Linked DNA regions of Homo sapiens: regions 2 and 3 are each linked to region 1. The links are contacts of gene promoters, found by promoter capture Hi-C in blood cells and fetal thymus (Javierre and others, 2016). All regions are on one chromosome and are shown on one strand. Each heading gives the region's core, a stretch centred on a gene start or on the middle of the fragment in contact. The rest is flanking DNA. Distances are from core to core; before and after follow the strand shown.

What was found. The method cuts DNA at HindIII sites, captures the fragments that hold promoters and counts their contacts. A CHiCAGO score of 5 or more calls a contact.
Region 2: a contact is called between the fragment with the promoter of RETREG1 here and the fragment with the promoter of DAP in region 1, in 1 of 17 cell types (non-activated CD4 T cells). The highest score is 6.1, in non-activated CD4 T cells.
Region 3: the fragment with the promoter of ICE1 here is called in contact with the fragment with the promoter of DAP in region 1 in 8 of 17 cell types (naive CD8 T cells, total CD8 T cells, fetal thymus and 5 more); the score reaches 18.3 in naive CD8 T cells.

The regions. Positions count from the first base shown.
Region 1 is chr5:10,759,265-10,763,127 of GRCh38, reverse strand. It overlaps DAP (death associated protein), which reads left to right and starts at 1,894. Exons shown (of 4, transcript NM_004394.3): 1 at 1,894-2,114. The coding sequence starts at 2,060. DAP-DT (DAP divergent transcript) reads right to left here and starts at 2,092. Exons shown (of 3, transcript NR_187555.1): 1 at 1,912-2,092. RefSeq lists silencers at 1,359-1,828, 1,909-2,338 and an enhancer at 991-1,836. The HindIII fragment of the contact is 9,246 bases long and covers 1-3,863 here.
Region 2 is chr5:16,614,879-16,618,741 of GRCh38, reverse strand. It overlaps RETREG1 (reticulophagy regulator 1), which reads left to right and starts at 1,745. Exons shown (of 9, transcript NM_001034850.3): 1 at 1,745-2,090. The coding sequence starts at 1,771. RETREG1-AS1 (RETREG1 antisense RNA 1) reads right to left here and starts at 2,816. Exons shown (of 4, transcript NR_109946.1): 1 at 2,256-2,816. RefSeq lists a silencer at 1,502-1,991. The HindIII fragment of the contact is 3,701 bases long and covers 1-2,438 here.
Region 3 is chr5:5,421,427-5,425,289 of GRCh38, reverse strand. ICE1 (interactor of little elongation complex ELL subunit 1) reads right to left here and starts at 2,613. Exons shown (of 19, transcript NM_015325.3): 1 at 2,291-2,613. The coding sequence starts at 2,374. LOC101929200 (a long non-coding RNA gene) reads left to right here and starts at 3,161. Exons shown (of 6, transcript XR_001742583.3): 1 at 3,161-3,863. RefSeq lists silencers at 2,181-2,320, 2,381-2,710 and enhancers at 2,741-2,990, 2,856-3,366, 3,367-3,863. The HindIII fragment of the contact is 2,607 bases long and covers 2,094-3,863 here.

The DNA of each region.
Region 1 (3,863 bases), core at 645-3,144:
GAAATTAAGTTGCAGATGTGGCACCCATAAGCGTCTGCAGGTGGTGGTGGTGGTGAGTCTGGAGTTCAGGGGAGGAGCAGAAATAGAGAAATGAGGTTGCAGATTTGGCACCTGTAAGCATCTGCATGATAGTCGTCCACAGGCTGCATGTGACTATCTATGGGAAGTCTAGATAGAGAAGAAGGCCAATGCTGAGCCTTGCGATACTCAAATGTTTATAAATCTAGAAGAGGGCGAACTGCCAAGCTGACAGAGTGAGCAGCCAGGGTGGCCAGAGAACTGGAGGGTAAGGCAGTGATGTGGCACCTCCGGAGCAAAGGAGGAGGGGGACGGCCAGCTGCATCAAGTGCTGCTAAGAGCTCAAATAGAATGAAAGTAGAAAATGACCATTGGATCTGGCAGCACATAGGTTATAAGTGACTTCCACAAAAGGACCTCCCATGGTTGAGGGCAGTGCAGCAGAACTTGATGAAAACCAGACAAACTGGACTGGAGGGAGTGACAAGAGATGAGGAGCTCAGCCTCCCTGAACAGTTTTGTTGTCAAAGGGAAAAGTACAGCCAAGCGAGGGGTGGTGTTTCCTTCGCTAAAGAGATTAGGCCTGTCTGAATGCGAATCCAGCAAGGCATTGCGGAAGTTAACAGCAGTTGCAAAACACTGGGGCAGGCGGGAAGAACACGATCCAAGGCACGAGAGCCAGGGGTCAGCCACGGCAACAGGAAGATGATGGTGAAAACCAAAAGTTTCTGAGAGTGGTCTCAATTTAGGAAGTTTATTTTGCCAAGGTTAAGGACGTGCATTGACACAACCTCAGGAGGTTCTGATGACATGTGCCCAGGGTGGCCAGGAAACATCTTGGTTTTATACATTTGAGGGAGACATGAGACATCAATCAATACGTAAGATGTAGGTTGGCTCTTTAGGAGGTAAAATGTGAAGTGGAGGCGTCCGGGTCATAGGTACATTTAAAGGTTTTCTGATTGGCAACTGGTTGAGAGTTATCATCTAAAGACCTGGACTCAGTAGAAGGGAATGTCCGGGTTGCATGAAGGAGTTGTGGAGACCAAGGTGTTATCATGCAGATGAAGCCGGGAATACACTGCAAATGTTTCTTATCAGAGTCCTCTATTAGTCTTAGGGTCTCCGTGCGGATGTTTGTGAGGCCATGTTTGACTTCCGCTTCCCATCAAGGCCTGAACTAGTTTTTCAAGATAACTTAGAAGGCCACAGGCGGAGGGGAGGGTCCATCCGTTGGCTGCAGGGCTTAGAATTTTATTTTTGGTTCATAACGAGGAGGGCAGGGACAGAAGCCACCGTCTCTGCTCCCCAGCGCTGGCCCTCACTCGGAAAGCAGGCTCTCCCCTCGCATCGTCTTTTAACAAATTCCTGCTCTCTCGGCCCCCGTCGCTGCCATCTGGGCTCTCCTTTCCGCGCTTCATTAGGCGCTGCCGCGGCAGGGGCTGAGGGCCTCAGGGGACGGTCGCCTCCCTGCCGGGACGCCCCGGCCCTGGCCCGCACTGTGGGGCGCAGTCACCCAGCCGTCGCCGCGTAGCCAGGAGCCCGGCTGAGCGCGTTCGCTGCAGGAGCCATCCTCAGCTGGGCCCTACTTAACTTTCCGCAACTCCAGTCCCCGCAGCCAGTCGGGGACCCCGCCTCCCTCTCCTTCCTTCTCCCTCTCACTTCTTCACCCCTTCTCTCCCCTCCCTCCTCCGCCCCCGCCCCCGCCCCCGCCCCCGCCCCCGGCCACAGCATCCGACGTGGCGCGGCCGGCTGCGCACGCACCGTATGCTTGGCTCGCGGCCCAGCAGGGCGGGCGGGCCGCGGTGACGTCAGTGCGCATGCCGTCGGTGGGCTCGGCTGCGCCACGTCGGCGCGCGGCGGCCGCGCCCCCTTAACGGCAGTGGCACTCACCCGGCTCGCGCGGCCCCGGCGCCCCACGCGCGCGCGTCGTTCTCCCGCCCGCTCGCTCCCCGGCGCTCACACCTGAGCTCACTCGCGCACGCCCGCCCGGCCCGAGAACCGCGCCGCCGCCTCGGCCCCGCGGAAGCCCCGCCGCGTCATGTCTTCGCCTCCCGAAGGGAAACTAGAGACTAAAGCTGGACACCCGCCCGCCGGTACTGACTCTTTTCCTCTCTCTCCACGCGCGGGTGCCGGGGGCGGGCTCGAACCCGGGGGCGCCGGGCGGGGGCTCCGCGGGGAGGGCCCCGGCGAGCGCTGAGACGGGTTCCGGGCCTTGATGCCCGCCCGAGGGGCGCGGGCCGCGGAGAGGTCGGGCGCCCAGGCCCGGGAGGAGCCCGCCGGAGCTTCGGCCCCGCTTGCCGGCGGCGGCGAAGCGTTTCTTCCTGAGGACCGCGGGCGGCCGCGTACCTGTGCGATTGCGCGCAGGCTCCGGTGCCTTGGGCGAACCCAGTTGCACAACTTATAACAAAGTTTTGGCGGATAATATTTACTTAGAGGATACAGATGTCTAGAAAGAAAGTAGCAGAAGCAATGAAAAGTCAGTGGTGTTAATATCATGGTGATGATTAATTAGAGGCTGCCAGCGTTTCATACCGACTCAAGAACCAAGGAGCGGAAATAATTTTTATCATTAATCACTCAATATGACTTTCACCGCCAGTTTCTTCCACATCCAGATTTTTTTTTTCCCCCAAAGTTGCTTTTTCTGATTTTGAGCAAATCCTAAACTTCTGAGCCAAGGAAGTTAAAGCCAGGAAAGAGCGGTCTTTCTTAGAACATAGGGATCTAAGCAGCCTTCATGCTTCTGCCACCTCCTCCTCTCTCTGGGCACAGTTCCTGTTTGCACTTTGGATTCTGTCCAGACGGGTCTGTTTCCGTTTCTACTCTCCTTTCCAGTGGCAGTCGGCCCATATGGAGGGACACTGGTGAGAAGATCAAAGGCCTTGGGTCTCAGAAGCCAAGTCACTTCAATGTATGGATGCGTGAGGTTCTTTTAGGTCTTAATAGCACGCCTTAGTGTCATAAACTCAGTCTTGTAGGAACAGAAGTCTTTGAGAAACATGGCTTCTTTTGGTGGCACATTTGCGCCATTTTCTTGACAATAAAGATTCCTGGCCAGGCGCGGTGGCTCATGCCTGTAACCCCAGCAGTTTGGGAGGCCAAGGAGGGTGGATCACTTGAGGTCAGGAGTTCAAGACTAGCCTGGATAACATGGTGAAACCCCATCTCTACTAAAAGTAGAAAAATTAGCTGGGCATGGTGGCGGGCGCCTGTAATCCCAGCTATTCAGGAGGCCGAGGCAGGAGAATGGCTTGAACCCGGGAGGCAGAAGTTGTAGTGAGCCAAGATTGAGCCAAAGCACTCCAGCCTTGGCGACAAAGCGAGCGAGACTCCATCTCAAAAAAAAAAAAAAAAAAAAAAAAGATTCCCATTATCCTTCTCTGCTGTCCTCCGCTATAGGGCGGGAATTCTCTGCACCAGCACAATGAATAGGAGCCGTTCTTTAAATATGTTGCAGTCCAGAGTAGGCAATATTTTTCAGTGGTGACGGAGGCTCTCTACAACAAAACTAACTGGCACTGGGAAAGAAAAATGTCTAACTGATGCCAGAGAACTTAAGAGGCATGGGGTTTTAGAAAATCATTCCACTGTGATGGAAAATGGTTTTGGGGGAATTTGTGTTGCATTGGTTTTAAGAAAAAAAGTACTTCAAAGGGAGTTTTTTTTTTGATGGGATTTCTTTTAAGGATAACTGACTTCCATTCCACCACAGCGGGTCCCTGTCCACTGTGGGGAGGAGCGCCTTGATTTCCACCCCGGGCAGGGCTGCCTCCAGGAACTGCAGCAGCCACCTGCTCTGGCCCTCCACTCCCCAGGACATGGGTTACATTAAAGCGTATCTG
Region 2 (3,863 bases), core at 496-2,995, 5.9 Mb before region 1:
TCCTGTTGAATTCCCAACAGCAGTTATTGCCCCTGTCCCCAATCCCCACACTAATGGGGGCCCTACAATTTAGGGCAGAGGCCATTTATTACAAAACGCTCTTGAAACCTGATCCCTCCACTCCTCCCCTAATTTTGGATGCACAGTTTAAGTAAGGAATCTCTTAGCACTTAGCGAAGGCTTCTTCGCTGTGGCAGATATCACAATTGTAACTGGGCCCTCATCAGACTGGGAGCTTCCTGTGGGTGGAAGCTGCATCCACAGAGCTTAGCAATGCTTTGTGTACTCGGTAGGTGCTCAGTAAGCCTTTGCCTGGGCTCTGGGAATATAACTCCTTTGAAGTACAACATACAAGCAGTAAAGTGCAGACACCTGCAGTGAATGTACAGATCAATGGATTCCACGTGTGTATACACAGAGGTTTACAATGGCCACCCAGAGGAGCGTTACAGAACATTCCCCTAGAGACTCCCTTGACGCAGGGAATTTAATTGCCCTCCCTTCCATCCTGTGCAGGCAGGCTGGTTGCCAGTAAAGGGATATGAGATGCCCTGATGCATCCGCAGACAGAACCCTTAGTATGGGGGGGAAGGACCTGTCATTCTAGAGTAAAAGTAAGACCAGGAAGATTAAAGAAGACAAAAATTTAAAAATGCAAATGGTGAAAAGCATAAACAACTATTTTCCTCTCTCCCCACACTCACCCAGAAGCACCGGGGCCAAAGAGAGGGCATGGGAGGTCTCAGGATCCCCTGCCGCCCCACCACTGCCCTGATGCCCGCTTGTGACGCAGAGACCGGAGTGGCTCTGAAATTACTGTCTTCAAAGCAGGCCAAACCTTGCTTGACACGTGCAAAGTTCCAATCTCTTGCTTCTCAGCTCCCCGCACGCGCGGGCCAACGTGCACTTCTGAGCCAGATCACCTAGCCACAAGGAGGGGGAGAGAGGGGGAGATAGGAGGAGAGAGGGGAAGATAGGGGGAGAGACGGGGGAGAGAGAGGGAGAGGCAGAGAGAGAGAGAGAGACAGAGAAGAGAAAGGAAGCACCTGAGACAGAGAGAAAGAAGAGAGAGAAAGGAAGCAGCTTCCCCCAACGCTGCGGCCTTGTGTTTCCTCCCGTGTCAAACGAGAGGGCCCCAAATTGACCCCAAATGTTTTTTCTTCCTTTCTCAATCCAACATTTATACCAGCACGTTATTTCCAGGATGCCCAGGACCTCTGCTATGGTTGTGCTGCTGTCCCTGCAAAGGCGCTGGGGATGGCCGAGGTGGGGGATGTCTCTGGGGGCTGAAATACGCTGCCAGGGGAAGGGGCGCCCCGATACCACCCTCAGTGGCTGCTGGTTGGGCGACCGGTGGCCCTGGCTTGAGAAAGTGAAAATGTCCAATCTATTTTGCCTGGAGCCTTGGGTCTCTTTTGGATACGGAACCGAGCAGCAGTCCTCCACTTCGCCCTCTCCCGCCGCTGCAAGGGAAAAGGTCGTTTTCCTCGAGTCCCGGAGAGGCCCTCCAGGAACCCAGAGCCCCCCGGGGACACCGCCCAGCTCCCGGCGCCCGGCCCCGCCCCTGCGCGAACTCGGCCGCACCCACTTTCCCGGGCGGCTCCCCCTCCGTGGCCTGTGGCGTCACAAGGCCCCCAGCCGCCTGTGCCCCGCGGTGCGCGCCCCGCTCCGGGACCTGCCGCCACCGCCGCCCCGCCCTCGGCGGCACCCACACCCAGGCGCGCCCGCGCGCGCGCCCGGCCCCGTCCCTGTCTGGAAGCACAGCTGAAGATGGCGAGCCCGGCGCCTCCGGAGCACGCCGAGGAGGGATGCCCGGCTCCTGCCGCCGAGGAGCAGGCGCCGCCGTCGCCGCCACCGCCCCAGGCATCCCCCGCAGAGCGGCAGCAGCAGGAGGAGGAAGCGCAGGAAGCTGGGGCGGCGGAGGGCGCGGGGTTGCAGGTGGAGGAGGCCGCGGGCCGGGCGGCGGCCGCGGTAACCTGGCTGCTCGGGGAGCCGGTGCTGTGGCTGGGCTGCCGCGCCGACGAGCTGCTGAGCTGGAAGAGGCCGCTGCGGAGCCTGCTCGGCTTCGTCGCTGCCAACCTGCTGTTCTGGTGAGAGCTTGGGCAAGGTGGGGGCGCTGAGGAGGGCAGGTGACCTTGGGGCGCCCGGGGCCCCGGGGACCCAGTGCAGGGGGAGCCCGCGGGACACTGCGGAGGAAGAATTGTCAGCCCTGCCCCACTTTCTCGGCCACCTGTCTCGAACAGGTAGACACTCACCGCAACTTTCCTCCGGACGCACGTCCCTGTGAGCAGTTGTCGTTCTCCGTGTGCGGATCCAGCCTCAGATGCGAGGTGGTCGGCCGACCCTCAGGCACCTGCACCTACAGGTGTTCCCATCGTGCTTGAAAACTTCGCCCCTGCTTTCTAAAACTCTGAGGTCTTGACCTGCTCGCCCAAGCTTGCCGGAGCAAACGTGCTTGAACGTGTCTTGGTTCTTGCAGCCCCAGCAGGCATATCTGGACCAGATTAGGTACCCGTTCAAAACGGTGCCGCATTCATCAGTCACCTGAGATGGGCCCTGAATGATTTGTTTTTTCCTTCCCCTGGAGCGTTAGGTTTACTGTGTTTACTCCCTGATGAGAAAACGGGAGGCAAACAAGCAGGTGGAGTATGCCCAGCACCCACCCCCGGGTGTGCACAGTGTGGAAAACAGGCATATTTTTAGGTGAAGTACAGGGAGAACACACGGGAATGCTCAGCCCCTGAGCAACAGGTTTGTCTCTCCAAAAAGCGCTCTTCAGAAAGGCCAGGGAAATGTCTGTCTCCTTCGTTGAAAGTGGTGTCCTGTCATCCGTTACCACGCTATTGAGGGCGGAGAAAAACCTTCTTTGTTTGCTAAGTGTCCTCATAACAAACATGACCTACACAGTGCAGAATAATCAGACTCCGGTAACAGATACCTTGTTACAGGACAGAGATTTCTGAACCTTAAAGTTGAGAAATAAATAAATTGCACAAAATAGACAGCCTGTCATTTTCTAGGTTAACTTGAGCAAGATGAATATTTTCCTCAGATCTCTGCTAGTCCTGGTGTTTTCTCTTAAAACTAGCTGTATCTTGTCGGAGGTCCCTGAAAGTGAATTAACTTTGGATCTCTTAGGTATCTGTGTTTGGAATAGAGTTTATTCCAAATCTATCTTATTATGGAGTGAATGCGAGCACTCAAATAAGAAGGACATATTGTCTTATGCTAGATTGGGCAATAGTCTAATAGTCTTAGGGCTGTGTCTCACTAATGTTTACGATGTTTTTAACATTTTATTTCTTTTTCTTTTCTTTCTTTCTTTCTTTTTTTTTTTTTTTTGAGATGGAGTCTCACTCTGTCGCCCAGGCTGGAGTGCAGTGGCGCGATCTCGGCTCGCTGCAAGCTCTGCCTCCCGGGTTCACGCCATTCTCCTGCCTCAGCCTCCCGAGTAGCTGGGACTACAGGCGCCCGCCACCACGCCTGGCCAGTTTTTTGTATTTTTTTTAGTAGAGACGGGGTTTCACCGTGTTAGCCAGGATGGTCTCGATCTCCTGACCTCGTGATCCGTCCGCCTCGGCCTCCCAAAGTGCTGGGATTACAAGCGTGAGCTACTGCGCCCGGCCTTAACATTTTATTTCTTAATTTTAAATTTTATTTCTTTAAAAAACTAATACAGTCTCACAGTGCAAAAGTTTAAAGGTACAAAAGGGTAAGCATTTTGAAAATCTCTTTCTCATCCCAGTCCCTGGCCGCCCAGTTTCCTCACGGAGGCCAGCAATGTTGCTAGTTTCCTGTGTCTCTTTCCAGATAGTGCACATTTCAGCAAATACACCATATTCTATGCAAATTGTGGAATAACA
Region 3 (3,863 bases), core at 1,364-3,863, 5.3 Mb after region 1:
TACTCTTATTGATGTTTTGAGAACCCACAGCAGGAAATGTGGCAAGGGTAGAAGGAAGGAGATTCAATTTCTAGGCCATACATTAGAGTAGTTCACACCACGGTGGAAGCAGTGGAGATGTTGAAAAGTGGGTGAATAATGAAGGCAGAGCGGACACAATCTGATAAACTGGATACAGGTTATGAGAAAAAAAGAGCTGCACCAAGGATGCCATCTAGTTTCTGGCCTAAGCAACCAGAAGAATACAGTTGCTAAATTTAACCATAACAGATCCATGACTGAAAAGCACAGTTCACATCAGTAGTTCTTCTGCACAAAAGCCTCCAATGACTCACCATTTCCATCGCCCAAACCCCAACAATGGTCTACAGGAGCCCACACAATCAGGCCCTCCTCCTACCTTCCTGACTCCCAGCATTCACTCCGCTCCAGCTTCACTGGCCTTCTTGCTCTTCCCAAGCACACCAAGCCAGCTCCTGCTACAGTTCTTCACATCTGATGTTTCCACTGTATGGGAGACTTTTCTTCCAAGATTTCTACAGAGCTTATTATTCTCTCACCTTTGCTCCAATATAAACGTTCCAGGACTCCCTACTTAAATTCCAACAGCCACTGGCCTAGTCCTCACCCATTCATTCCCTCCCCATCTCTGTTCAATTCATCAACAACGTTTTCATTACCCTCTAACATAACTCATTTGTTTCATTTATCCTGCCACCCTCCTAGAACGGAAGCTCCAAGAGATCAAGAATTTTTGTCTTTTTCTCCCCTAATGCCATAATTGCAGTGTCTAAAATACGGCAGGTGATCAATAAATGTTTGTTGAGTGAATTGGCTCGAATAATAAATACAATGTATTAAAGATTCGGGAGAACTCCAATCACGTTCCTGGGGTGGTGGTGGCGGGGGCGGGGGGGCGTTATAAGATACCTACACAATGCAGCTCAGTGAAGGCAATGATCTGTTAGTTCTCCTTCTACTCACAAAAGCAGCACATTTCCTTCCTCCCCTTCCTTCAACACTTAAAATGTTTGCAATCAGTTCACAGATATTGCACTTAAAATGCAAACCAAGTTTCTCGGCATGGCCTACCTAGCCTGCACTCCCGTCTGGTCTCATCAACCATCTTCCGTGTGCACTATGCTCATGCCAACCATACCATGTTCTGCTCATCAAAGACACCCTGCTCCTTCTCACCAAAGGAACCTTTCCACCTGTTAATCCCTCTATCCAGGAAGCTCTTCCCACATCTCTTCTGACAGCCCGATCCTTCCCATTATTCAAATATCTGAAAGTTACTGACTCAAAAATTCCCTACCTGACTACTCTAGCTAAGAGACAAGACCAATATTCCAACATCCTCCTTTATTTTCTAACACCTAAAATCTTCTGAGGCCTTATTCACACATATGCATCTTACTTATGAGAGATCCTATTTTGTTCACCACAATGTCTGTAGTTCCTAGAACACTAGGCAGAGTAGGTAATGAGGTGCTGGTGAGTTCCGTTTTATCACTGAAACCGCGATAGTAGGAAGTTAAAAGAGACCCCCGACATCAGGCAGCTAGGAGAGTCGTGGGAAATGAGGGGCACTATTGCCCAAGTACCACCCCATAAGATCTGGAGCCATACTCTAGCAATTCTCCCTTATGTCACTCTAAAGAAGAGCCCACGCCGCTGTTAGAAACCTCCAGTCTCTGCATGCCTTTCATAAACTACTTTTATCAAACAACTGACAAGCTACTTGACCAATTACTTGGCTTGCTTTTTAAAAAATTAGCCTCGGGATGGCACATCTGCTATAAGCTGAAACGCCTCCCTAGACTCTTCGAGTCTAAGACTCAGACAACCCACATGTCACGTAAGATTCTGCCTCCAAACAACAAATACTCAGGATGGGCCAGAAGACCAAAGCGTTATCCTCAGGGAGATAACTGCCCTCGGCGTTTCACCTGTCCCTCACTGACCTACGGAGTCTGCCCTAGGGAGCTCCGAGGCCGGGTAGGGAAGGTGGGGGGCCCTCCAAACCTCGCTTACTCCACCCCCACCGTTACACCAGCGCATTCCAGTCAATGAACTCTGGGTTTCAAGCTTAAATAAAGCAAAGAAAGCCGTCCCCAAAACTCATGTAGGAAAAAGAGAGCAGAGAGACGAGCGAGCAAGAGCTACGGTTGGGAAGGGAGAGCAGCGCACTGAGGCACAGCCCGCGCGGCCGGACCCCACATCCCTGCGCTCCCGGCCGGCCGAGCCGAGTCCCCCCCCGCGCCCGGGGCCCCGGGAGGTGCTGCACCTGCTGCAGAGAGGCGCAGCCCTGACATCGCGACAGGTCCGCCGCCGTCCCGGGCGCCGCCGAATGGGTCTCGCCCGGCATCATGGTGCCGCCGCCGGGCCCGGTGGGCACGCACGCCTCAGGGGCCCGCGGCGTCGGCCCCGTCCTGTCTCTGCTGATGCCGCCGGGGCCGCCGCCTGCCAGGCCGCTTCCCGCCAGGTCCGGGCGGGTCCATCCGTGCACAGAGGTCCCCGTGGGGCTAGCAAAAGGCTCTCCGAGCCAGAGCTGCCTCAGGCACTAAAAAGAAACGCTACCCGGCGCGGCCCCCGAGCGCGACGCAGTCCAGTCAGGGCCCCGCCCCGCCCTGGCTCGCCCCGCCCCGCCCTGGCTCGCCCCGCCCCTCCCCTGGGCGCGGGGCTGCCTAAGGCGCTGCCTGAGCAACACCGGGAGAGGAGCTGTGCTATGCGGCGGGGGAGACGCCCACAGAGGAGCAGCCAATAGGAGTAGAAGGATCGAAGGTGCATTCCTACCACTGTTAAGGGTCGATCCTTTATTGCCACCTTGCTGTACGACAGGCTTTCCATAGACACCTAAAGGCCTCCGCTATGTGGGCGGTGACCCGCCCGTGACGTAAGCTCCAGACGCCTGAGAAGTGGAAGGACCCGGCGTCCAGGACAGGAAAGTGCGTGATTTACAGCTAGAGGGATAGGCGCTGTCCCGGAGCCCGTCCTGGGCCAGGGAGCAGGAGAGGGAGGGACTACAGTTCCCGACGCGCTGCGGGGCGGGCGGAGATCGTGCGCTTCGGCGCCAGTTGCACGGCCTTAGCAGCCAGTGGCGGCTCCCCTGCTCCTGTAACAGTCCCCTTGTCTTCTGACCTTTCGCTCCTCGGTCATGTGTCCTCGCCGGTCGCCGCGGCAGCCAGTGATGCCCGAGCGGCGGGTTCCCAGGCCCAGGTGTGGGCGCCACCGCCCACCATGCGCCAAGCCCAGAGCCTGGTTGAATCGTTCGCCACCTTGTCTACCCATTTTGGCCATTATCCTGCCACCTCCAAATCCTGTTTTTGACACTTCTCGGGAGAGAGAGAAAACGGAAAGATAAAGGAATAAACTCCTCGTGGTCGTAGTTAGTGGGTAAATTCAGATCTCGTTTGAACCGAGGTTTTTCTTATCTCCAGCCACCGTATCCACCACCACCAGAATCGTCTTTTTAGTCATCACAGCTGGTCGCCGTCAGTACCTTGTTCAGAAGCCTCTCGCAGCTTCCATCGTGTGGTTATACAATCCAAATTCCTTATAAAGTCCAAATTCAAGAGGAGGAATGCACGTTTAGTTAAGTTAATGTCTAGACCTTACCAGCCAATTTCTAGCTCCTCAGTATGGAAATTGCAACTGAAAACACCCCTTCCAAAAAAAGCAGTCTGCATTTTTCTCTGAGTTTTCTTCTCCAAATTTCGCACCCCTGACCTTGCTTACACACTCTGGATACCACCTGCTGTGGAGTGGCGGAAGCAGACATCCAGCGATAGCTAAGTTTCCTGTCGTTGACACCCAAGCAAGACAGGCGTGTACCTAACTGAGGACCTGCCGGTGATAGA